Linked DNA regions of Homo sapiens: region 1 is linked to region 2. Evidence: promoter capture Hi-C in human tissues and cell types (Jung and others, 2019). All regions are on one chromosome and are shown on one strand. The core of a region is centred on a gene start or on the middle of the fragment in contact, and the rest is flanking DNA. Distances in the headings are between cores, read along the strand shown. Region 1 overlaps MORC3 (MORC family CW-type zinc finger 3). Region 2 holds the start of CBR3 (carbonyl reductase 3).

Region 1 (5,567 bases), core at 2,706-5,205, 230 kb after region 2:
ATGTTAAAGTTTAATACATATCAAAGGGATTTGGTTTATTTAGTTCATTTTCTTCTCTTGTACTTCTGCTTGCCCACCTTTCCAACTCTTCCTAATCCAACATCATTCAAACTGTTAGTTTGATTGTTTAGTTGGGTATCTTCTGAGGAAAGGCAAACAAACTTTAAAAATTGTACTGTTAGATAAGCAGTTAAGGAAGACATCCCAGGAACACCCAGGAAGCCATATTTTAGTGCTAACCGGGACAAAAGCCATAGTGTTTTTCCCAGTGTTGACTACTCTGCCTGGCCTCTCTCTTCTGTCTTAATACTTACTGTGTTAAAGAGCTTTGGTTGAGTATAGATTCTCCTAGGCTTACCGTAGAGTTACATCCTGATAAGCCCATTATAAGTTGAAAATGTTTTTAGCCGTGGTGGCTCATGCCTGTGTTCCCAGAACTTTGGGAAGGTGAGGTGGGCGATCACTTGAGGCCAGGAGTTCGAGACCAGCCTGGGCAATATGGCAAAACCCTGTCTCTACTAAAAATATAAAAAATAATGTGGTGGCAGGCACTTGTAATTCCAGCTACTCAGGAGGCTGAGGCACAAGAATTGCTTAAACCTGGGAGATGGAGGTTGCAGTGAGCCAAGATCACACCACTGCACTCCATCCTGGGGAACAGACTGAGACTCTGTCTCAAAAAAACAAAAAACAAACAAAATATTGTTATCAAAAATGCATTTAATACACTTAACCTATTGAATATCATAGCTTCGCCTAGCCTACCTTAATTGTGCTCAGAACTCTTATATTAGCCTACATTGGGCAGTCATCTGACAGTCTGTTTTATCATAAAGTGTTGAGTATCTCATGAACTTTATTGAATACTGAAAGTGAAAAACAAAACAAAAATGATTGCTTGAGTACTCGAAGTACAGTTTCTGCTGAATGGGTATTGCTTTTGCACCATCATAAAGTTGATGCCATTGTAAATCAGGGGCCATCTGAATGCAAGTAGGCAGTTGTGCTTCTTGCTTGAGAAGTTTGGGTCTTGATAAGTCTAGTAGCAAAGAGGTCACCACATGGTAAATCTTTTTGGCTTTGTGGGCCACATAAAGTCTCTGTTGCATATTCTTTGTTTTGTTGCTTTGTTTCTTCACACCTTTTAAAAATACAAAGCCATTCTTAGCCTACTTGCAGGCTGGATTTAGTTCATTGGTTTACTTGTTGATTCCTGGTATAGCACAAGGAATTTACATGTTTGGAATTGTTTTTGTGTCTTCTGGGATAAGGGGGAAGAGGAAGATTATATCTTGTGTTTTGGGCATGTCACACTAGAAATAGTTCCTTTAAGGTGATGATTTTTCCCTCCAACAGATTAATGCTGAACTGTTGTTTCGGCCAACTGCTCTTTCAACTCCAAGCTTTTCTTCTCCTAAGGAAAGTGTTCCAAGAAGACATCTTTCAGAAGGAACAAATTCTTATGCGACAAGACTTCTAAATAATCATCAAGTTCCACCTCAGTCTGAACCTGAGAGCAACAGGTCAGTGGCTAAGATTGGTTTTCCATTTGGGGAATATTAAACAGAGCTTTTACTTGACACTTCTGTGACAGTGATGCAATTCGGGATCATTGTAGGTTCCATTGTGAATTGTAGGTTCCATGAATGTGAAAATCTTCAGGACAAATTGTCTTGCTTTTATTGTCTAAACTTAGGCTAAACCCTACTTCTGCCACCTGTTAAATTCGTTAAAAAGTATTAATTGACCAGCCTGGCCAACATGGCAAAACCCCATCTCTACTACAAATACAAAAAAATTAACCAGGCGTGGTGGCGGGCACCTGTAATCCCAGCTACTCCAGAGGCGGAGGCTGAGGCTGAGGCTGAGGCTGCACCCCAGCCTGGGCAACAAGAGCAAAACTCCGTCTCAAAAAAAAAAAGCATTAATTGTATTCATTGTAGAGTTTGATCGCATTCTCACCTGTTTGAATTTCTATATAGTATGACAATTCCTGCTTTTAAGATGATCAGGACTTAAAAAAATGTGAAGCAGCCCGGGCGCGGTGGTTCACGCCTGTAATCCCAGCACTTTGGGAGGCCGAGGTGGGTGGATCATTTGAGGTCAGGAGTTCGAGACCAGCCTGGCCAACATGGTGAAACCCCGTCTCTACTAAAAATATAAAAATTAGGTGGGTGTGGCGTTACATGCCTGTAATCCCAGCTACTTGGGAGGCTGAGGCAAGAGAATCGCTTGAACCTGGGAGGCGGAGGTTGCAGTGAGCCGAGATCACGCCACTGCACTCCAGCCTGGGTGACAGAGCGAGACTCCATCTCAAAAAAAAAAAAAAAAAAACATGAAGCAATTAACAGTACGACACTATAGTGACCCAGAAGTTCTTTGCAAAGCCTATGGCACACTGTAGGCACTTAATTTATTGGAGGAGTGGATGGAGAAGGAAGGGACAAAGAGAAAGTGATGCATGAATTGAATAGTTAGCCATCTTGACTGGATTGATCAGCGAAGGCTTTGTGATGAGGTGGTACTTACGTTGGTTCCTGAAGTTCTGAAAACAGTAGTCTTGTAGATGGCCTCTTCCAATTTAATAGAATGAAGACAAGTGAAGAAGAATGAATGTGATGTCTACAAACGAGTGGATCACACTGACTATACTGATGTTTGTTATTCGAAGAGGAACATTGAAACAAGCTTCTCTAAGATAGTGGGGCCAGATTTTTTTTGAGATGTTTTGTAACTTTTATCAAATTCTCAAAGGAATTTTTGACCCCAAGGAAGATTATAAATAACTAACTGCCTTTATGCATATATAAATCAAAGAGGGCATATTCTAGAATAGTTTGCTCTTCCTTTCTTTATTTTTTTGAGTCGGAGTTTGGCTTTTGTTGCCCAAGCTGGAGTGCAATGGTGCAATCTCAACTCAATGCAACCTCCGACTCCTGGTTCATGCGATTCCCCCACCTCAGCGTCCCGAGTAGCTGGGGTTACAGGCACGCACCACCATGCCTGGCTAATTTTTTGTATTTTTAGTAGAGACAGGTTTTCACTGTGTTAGCCAGGATAGTCTCGAACTCCTGACCTCAGGTGATCCGCCCGCCTCGGCCTCCCAAAGTAATGGGATTACAGGTGTGAGCCACAGCACCCGGCCAGTTTGCTCTTTATAACCTGTGTATTGGACACTCATTTTGGAGCTGGATTGCTACTTTATTAAGAACTCATATTTTACAGTTCTCCTTAACATTTTTGGCTTTTCTTTGTAAGGATGGTTTTGTAGTTTATAGATAAGAGATTAAAGGTATTTTTAATGATTTTAACTTTTAGATTCAGGGTACATGCAGGTTTGTTACATGGGTATATGGCGTGATCCTGAGGTTTGGGGTATGAATGATACCATCGCCCAGCTATTGAGCATAGTACCCAATATGTAGTTTTTCAGCCCTGCCCACCTCCCTTCCTCTCTCCCCACTGTAGTGGTCCCCAGTGTCTATAGTTCCCATCTTTATGTCCATGTGTACCTAGCACTTACTCCCACTTATAAGTGAGAACATGAAGTATTTGGTTTTCTGTTCCTGCCTTAATTCCCTTAGGATAAAGGCCTCCAGCTGCATTCATGTTGTTGCAAAGGACATTATTTCTTTCTTTTTTATGGCTGCAAAGAAAATTTTTTAAAAGTTGGCCGTCATCAAAATGGAAGACAAGAATAAAGAGGGAAATTTTTGATTAAACAACTTTTTTTTTTTTTGAAACAGAGTCTTTCTCTGTCACCCAGCCTGGAGTGCAGTGGCATAATCTGTTTACTGCAACCTCTGCCTCCTGGTTCAAACAACTCCCCTGCCTCAGCCTCCTGAGTAGCTGAGATTACAAATGTACACCGCCATGCCCTGCTAATTTATTGTGTTGTAGTATAGATGGGGGTTCACCATATTGCCCAGGCTGGTCTCAAACTCCTAAGCTCAGGCAATCTGCCTGCCTCGGCCTCCCAAAGTGCTGGGATTACAGGCGTGAGCCACTTTGCCCGGCCTATTAAACAGTTTTTAAAGCCGTATTCTCAAATTTATAAACCAAAGTTTGTGGAAAGGGTGTATCTAAGTCTTAGGAAATATAAATAGGAATGAGCTTGGTAAGAAAAAGAATAGAGTAACTCCAAATTAAACAGGGCAGAGTAAGCAAGAAGTACTTGATACAGCAAACCAAGGGAAGCTGAAACCTAAGCTGCTGGAGGATGGTAGAAACCAGTTTACGCCACAGGTCCCTAGAAAGTCTCCTAACTTGGAAGCATTGGGGACTGCTGAAGGTGGAAGATAGATAGGGGTGAGAACCAGAGGCTTGGTTGGAAACTTAAAGTCGAGACCTCTTTCCAACCTGCAAAGTCTGGTGAGTGCCCTTTCTCTGCCTCTGTCAGAAGATAGGGAATTTACTTTATGGAGCAGTTTTTACTGCTGAAGATGTACATGAGCCATTGTTTTGAAACAGAATGAGTAAGGGAAAGTTTGGATACTGAATGGTCAGAAATCCACCCTTCCCTCCTCACTGGGCTCCAAGAGAGAAGCCCTAAATGATGATGGCAGTTTGAGCACCCTTTGAATCACAAGCTCAGCCCTAACTACTGCTAGTCAGTTTCACTCTTAGGTATACGCAGATCGCCCTGGATAGCCACATGTGTCATCTCCCACATGGGACAGCAGACTGAAACAAAGGGAATAGAAGAAAACATTGTGAAATTTATTGGGGGAAAGTGATGTAAACTTGAATAAATAAATCATTTAGAATGAAAAGCTTAACAGTCGGAAGATAGAGAAAGAAGAAAAGATACAGTATCTGTGCTGGAAAGCCACCATCTGAATAAGGGAGTTTCAGAATGGGACGTAGGCACTGGTATGGTGTAGCAAACATAGCTGCCTTCCAGAATGGGAAATCATACCAGAAAAACTGCATTTCCACTAACTACAGAGCATAATGTCTGGAAGGAGAGCCACTCAAAGACATAGGATCATGACATTTTTTTAACGCAGGGAATAAAAGATTTTTTCAGAAAGAAACAGATTATGTACGGGCAAGAGATGAGGAATTAGAATGGCAGAAACACTTGAATGGCAGATGAAAATGGAATGATGCTTTTAAATTTCTGAGAAAATAATTTTTCAACCCGGAAGCCTATATAACAGTTAAGCTAGCAATAGACTTGAGAGAGAAATAAAGATGTTTTCATCATGCAAAACTTTGCGTTTGTTATGTTCTGTGTACCCTTCATTAAGATGCTGTTGCAGGCTGTGCTCGCCCAATATGAGACAGTCCAAAAAAGAGGAAAATCCTTCCTGAGATCTAGGAGGTCTAACACAAGGCCCAAATAGCAAACCAGTACAAATATTCCTCCAAGTGTGGAAAAAGGCAATCAAATGGTGATAAATAAATGTGAACTATGCACATATTAACATGAATGAACAGGGAATGATGCAAATGAAGAAATTGGGGCAATTTTAATTCAGATAAAATTATTTCATATGAAAGGATAAATACTGGTTTGCTTTATGGCTTATCTTTGATCACTGATTACTGATAAAAATTATTAT
Region 2 (5,441 bases), core at 2,942-5,441:
GAAATGCATTTGCCTTATACAGCTAAAGCCATGGAAAGCCATAAGGATGAGTTTACCATTATTCCTTTACTGGTTGGAGCTCTGAGTCAAAAGAACAGGAATTCGGAACTTTTCAGTAAATATCTAGCGGATCCTAGTAATCTCTTTGTGGTTTCTTCTGATTTCTGCCATTGGGGTCAAAGGTTCCGTCACAGTTACTATGATGAATCCCAGGGGGAGATTTGTAGATCCATTGAACATCTAGATAAAATGGGTATGAGTATTATAGAACAATTAGACCCTGTATCTTTTAGCAATTACTTGAAGAAATACCATAATACTATATGTGGAAGACATCCCATTGGGGTGTTATTAAATGCTATCACAGAGCTCCAGAAGAATGGAATGAATATGAGTTTTTCGTTTTTGAATTATGCCCAGTCGAGCCAGTGTAGAAACTGGCAAGACAGTTCAGTGAGTTATGCAGCTGGAGCACTCACGGTCCACTGAAGCTCTGAATCCTCAGGGATGCCACCTGCACATTCTCATACTCTGTCCGGGCTCCCAGCCTAGCCTTTACCACGATACTGGTCCTGGTTTGGGGGGATTCTGAAACCTCAAACTAATAGAACTTTCTTCTCTTTTTTTCTAGTAGGTGTAGTCCTTCCTTAATTTCAACTCATTAAAAAATGCTTTATAGTTTAGGGCAGTGGAAGGAAGGCTGGCATCAAAATATTTTGATCAAAAAAGATGACAATGTAAAGGCTCAGTTATGGCAGACAGTTTTTTGAAAGTAACTTGTAAAGCATTTACCATATCCTAAATTTGCACTCTTTGCAGACTTGTGCACATATATTCCGCTTTCAGAATAGTTTTGCAAATTGTACACAAACAAACAAAAAGGTGGAAGCTTTTTAATAAAGAAATTGCATTTATAAATGATCTGTATTAGAATATAATAAATCTCCAGTTATAGTCAATTACTACCCATGTTGTACAACAGATACCTTCTATTTTAGTTGCTAATAAAGGGCTACACAACTCAAAATAAATAAATAAATAAATAATTTAAAAAATAAATAAAAATAAACTGAATGAAATTGAAAACATATCAATGTGAGATGCCACTAAAGTCATACTAAAAGGGAATTTACACCACTTACTGCCTACATTAGAAAAGAAGTCTCAAATCAATGCAAATCAATGACTTCTGCCTTTACAGTAAGAAACCAGAAAAAGAGCAAATAAAATCCAGTAAGCAGAAGAAAGGAAACAAAGATCAGAACAGAAATTAATATAATCAGGAAAAGAGAGAGAGAGAGAATCATTGTAACCAGAAGTTTGAGGAAAATCAAATCAATTGGTAAACCTCTAGCCAGACAGATCAGAAAAAAACACGAAAGACACAAACCAGTCTCAGAAATGACAGGTAGCATCATTACCAACATTAAAAGGATAAGGGCATGTTAAAAGGATAAGGGTATCAATAGAATCAACACCTTAGATGAAATATATAAAAAATTTGAGCTCTTTCTCAGTGACCAGGGCCTGTGCTTAGGCATAGACGGGCAAGTGGAGCCAACATGCCAGCGGCCCAGAGCTGGGTTTGTTGCCAAACTTATGTGACCCTGCAGAGACCCTTCGAGAAACCTCATCTCGACCAAAAGCTAAAGCTGATTGGTGAGTATGGGCTCCAGAACAAATGTGAGGTCTGGAGGGTCAAATTTACCCTGGTCAAGATCCATAAGGCCGCCCGGGAGCTGCTGACGCTTGATGAGAAGGACCCACGGCGTCTGTTCGAAGGCATTGCCCTGCTGCAGTGGCTGGTCCGCACTGGGGTGCTGGATGAGGGCAAGATGAAGCTGGATTACATCCTGGGCCTGAAGATCAATGATTTCTTAGAGATTCCTACAGACCCAGGTCTTCAAGCTTGGCTTGGCTAAGTCCATCCGCCACGCTCATGTGCTGATTCAACAGTGTCATATCCGTGTCCGTGAGCAGGTGGTAAATATCCTGTTCTTCACTGTCCGCCTGGATTCCCAGAAGCACATTGACTTCTCCCTCTGCTTCCCTATTGGGGTGGCCAACCCCAGCCACGTGAAGAGGAAGAATGCCAGCAAGGGCCAGGGTGGGGCTGGAGCCAGAGATGACGAGGAGGAGGAATAAGCCTGCTTGTCCCCTCCTGGGCTGGTGGATTGTCTAGTTTTCCTGCCAAATGATAAAACAGGATCAATGCTTTATTTAAAAAAATAAAATTATGAAAAACAGAAATTAAGGTCACTCAAGAAGAACTAGGCCAGGCACGGTGACACAAGCCTGTAATACCAGCACTTTGAGAGGCCAAGGAGGGAGAATCGATGTAGCCCAGGAGTTCAACCAGTCTGAGCAACACAGTGAGACTCCCATCTCTAAAAACAAATAAAAATAAAATAAAATAAAAAATTATCCAGGCAGGCCGGGTGTGGTGGCTCACGCCTGTAATCCCAGCACTTTGGGAGGCCAAGGCGGGTGGATCACGAGGTCAGGAGTTCGAGACCAGCCTGGCCAACATGGTGAAACCCTGTATCTACTAAAAATACAAAAATTAGCTGGGTGTAGTGGCAGCGCCTGTAATCCCAGCTACTCAGGAGCCTGAGGCAGGAGAATCGTTGGAACCCAGGATTCGGAGGTTGCAGTGAGCCAAGATCGTGCCACTGCACTCCAGCCTGGGTGACAGAGCAAAACTCCGTCTCAAAAAAAAAAAAAAAAAAAAAATTATCCAGGCATGACTGTGGCACACTTGTAGTCCCAGCTACTAGGGAGGCTAAAGGGGAGGATCACCTGAGCTCAGGAGACTGACGCTACAGTGAGCCACGACTGCAGCACTGCACTCCAGCCTGGGCGACAGAGAAGACCCTATTAAAAAAAAAAAAAAAAAAAAAAAAAACAGAAATAGAAAGCCTAAATAGCCCCATATCCTTAAAACAAGGTTCCAAATGATCTTTTTTTTTTTTTTTGAAAAGTCTCACTCTGTTGCACAGGTTGGAGTGCAGTGGTGCAATCTCGGTTTACTGCAACCTCCGCCTCCCGGGTTCAAGCAGTTCTCCTGCCTCAGCCTCCTAAGTAGCTGGGATTACAGGCACGTGCCACCACACCCAGGTAATTTTTGTATTTTTAGTAGAGATGGGGGTTTCACCATGTTGGTCAGGCTGGTCTTGAACTCCTGACCGCGTAATCCACCCGCCTCAGCCTCCCAAAGTGCTGGGATTACAGGTGTGAGCCACCGCGCCCGGACCAAATGATCTTTAGGAGAAAAAAGAAGGAAATACTGGGGGAGGCACAGTAGGAGATCACAGCAGGGGCCCACCTCCGGAACCTCAAGTAAGGACTTGAGAGAGAAGGTAGAGTCAGAGTAACAGAGACACAGGCGGGTTAGCCAGCTCTGCATGGAAAAGGCTGAGTCGTGATGATGTCATGGTTCTCCCCAAATCTCAAAGTCACTGATCAAACAACTCAGTTTACACTGAAGACGATGGATGAGACTCTAATTTTGTGCCCACAGCTTGACACACCTTTGGGAATTTGGTTTAACTTTCTTTGCCGGTACACAGATCTGTGAGAACATATGATCAATCCAGATCTTTATAGATCTATATCCTCCCTGGACAAACCTAAATGCAGACACTTTTAGCACCCGTAGGAGTTAGGTAGGATTAAATAAAAACATTCCCTCCCACTTGGGGGCACATTCACTGGGAATCCCAGAGCGATGTCGCCTGCCCACACCTGCTAAGTGCGCTCACAGGGCATCTAGTTCCCTCTCTTGAGTTCCTTTTAAGCAAGCAAGGCAACCTATGTCCAGAGAAGCAGTTACTGTGTCTAAGTAAGTCACTGCATCTTAGGAAAAAGCAAACATTCGCATTTTGCAGTGCATGATGGGCGCACACCCAAGAAAATTACTCAGCACTTGTTTTTCTCACTTTGGGGTTTTCCCAAAATAATTTCTTCAGTCCAGTTGCCAAGAATCTGGAGCCCCCGACTGACCCATCAAGGTCCGATTTGGCTTCGGACACCTCGCAGATCACCCCGCGGCTCAGAGCCCGGATCCTGAAGGGCGCAGCGTGGGCAGGGGGCGGGCCCGGGAGTTGGAACAGAGGGCACAGACGGCCCCTCCTCGGAGGGGAGGGACCGGAGCCGGGGCCTTTTTCTTTAAGACTCGCAGCACTGGATCCCAGAACTTAGTCTGCGCGGCGGCATTGACACTAGCTGGGCTCCTCGGGGCGCGCCCCAGGTGGTCCGAAGCCCGGTCCGCCCTCCACGCAGGTGCCCCGCGCTCCCCGCTCAGCCATGTCGTCCTGCAGCCGCGTGGCGCTGGTGACCGGGGCCAACAGGGGCATCGGCTTGGCCATCGCGCGCGAACTGTGCCGACAGTTCTCTGGGGATGTGGTGCTCACCGCGCGGGACGTGGCGCGGGGCCAGGCGGCCGTGCAGCAGCTGCAGGCGGAGGGCCTGAGCCCGCGCTTCCACCAACTGGACATCGACGACTTGCAGAGCATCCGCGCCCTGCGCGACTTCCTGCGCAAGGAGTACGGGGGGCTCAACGTACTGGTCAACAACGCGGCCGTCGCCTTCAAGAGTAGGTGCAGGGCTTGGGTTGGGGCCCCCTGGAGCGCTCCGAGGGTGCGGAGGTGGCCAGCCGCAGGCTCCCCACCCGTCCACTTGAGTGACCGAGGAGGGTGGCGCCGACCCCTAGGGATGCGCTCAGCCCACGCCTCCCGCGAGGCGGTTTTCGCTTTCCGTGATTCGCTGAGCCCCAGGCGGGCCCGGGCGACAAACAGCGCGCCCCGCCCGCCGGCCTGTGAGGGCCTGTGCGCGGCCCGGGGCCCTCCCCGAACTGTCAGCCGCTGTTGTGTGCAGGAAAACTGGCCTCCTGGGAGGGGGCAACGCCCTGCTAGAGTTCATCAGCTTTCCTTCCAACGCGAGAAACATTTTCTCTGCAAAGAAACGGTCTCCGCTCGCTTTGGGCTTTCGCTTTCCTTGAAAGGGCGCATTCATAGATGCCCGGAGGCATTTGCTCGGGAAAGGAAATGAATCGCTAAAACAGGATTAGCGCGCGCTTGCCCTTGGTGGACTTGACAATTTGTGTAATGCAGAGCTTTGATAGGCTCTGGCAAAAAGGAAGCGAGCCTTCTCGTTCCCCCACCCCCGCCCGGGGAGCTTATGTTTGTTATAAAATACGTGCGTGTGGTCTTAAAAGCATCTTCCTTAAGGAGAGGGGCGGGGATCAAGAGATTGCTTATTCTAACTACTACTGAAGAAAATTACAGGAGGGCGCAGTGGCTCACGCCTGTAATGCCAGCACTTTGGGAGGCCGAGGCAGGAGAAACGCTTGAACCTGGGAGGCAGTGAGCCGAGATCGCGCCACTGCACTCCAGACTGGGAGACAGAGCGAGACTCCGTATGAAAAAAAAAAAAAAGTTACT

What was found. Contacts are between HindIII fragments. The study calls those that stand out against the background at their distance.
Region 1: a contact is called between a fragment that was not itself captured here and the fragment with the promoter of CBR3 in region 2, in 3 of the 25 tissues and cell types used here (IMR-90 fibroblasts, lymphoblastoid cells and mesendoderm cells).

What each region holds. Positions count from the first base shown.
Region 1 is chr21:36,362,737-36,368,303 of GRCh38, forward strand. It overlaps MORC3 (MORC family CW-type zinc finger 3), which reads left to right. Exons shown (of 17, transcript NM_015358.3): 14 at 1,357-1,523. Among named protein-coding and RNA genes, the nearest start is that of CHAF1B, 20 kb to the right of the region's middle. RefSeq lists a silencer at 2,041-2,217. The HindIII fragment of the contact is 3,820 bases long and covers 2,046-5,567 here.
Region 2 is chr21:36,130,888-36,136,328 of GRCh38, forward strand. CBR3 (carbonyl reductase 3) reads left to right here and starts at 4,192. Exons shown (of 3, transcript NM_001236.4): 1 at 4,192-4,594. The coding sequence starts at 4,306. CBR3-AS1 (CBR3 antisense RNA 1) reads right to left here. Exons shown (of 3, transcript NR_038893.1): 3 at 880-2,187. It also overlaps the pseudogene MEMO1P1 and the pseudogene RPS9P1. RefSeq lists enhancers at 3,547-4,354, 4,355-5,161, 4,997-5,166 and silencers at 4,177-4,246, 4,677-4,846. The HindIII fragment of the contact is 7,591 bases long and covers 1,399-5,441 here.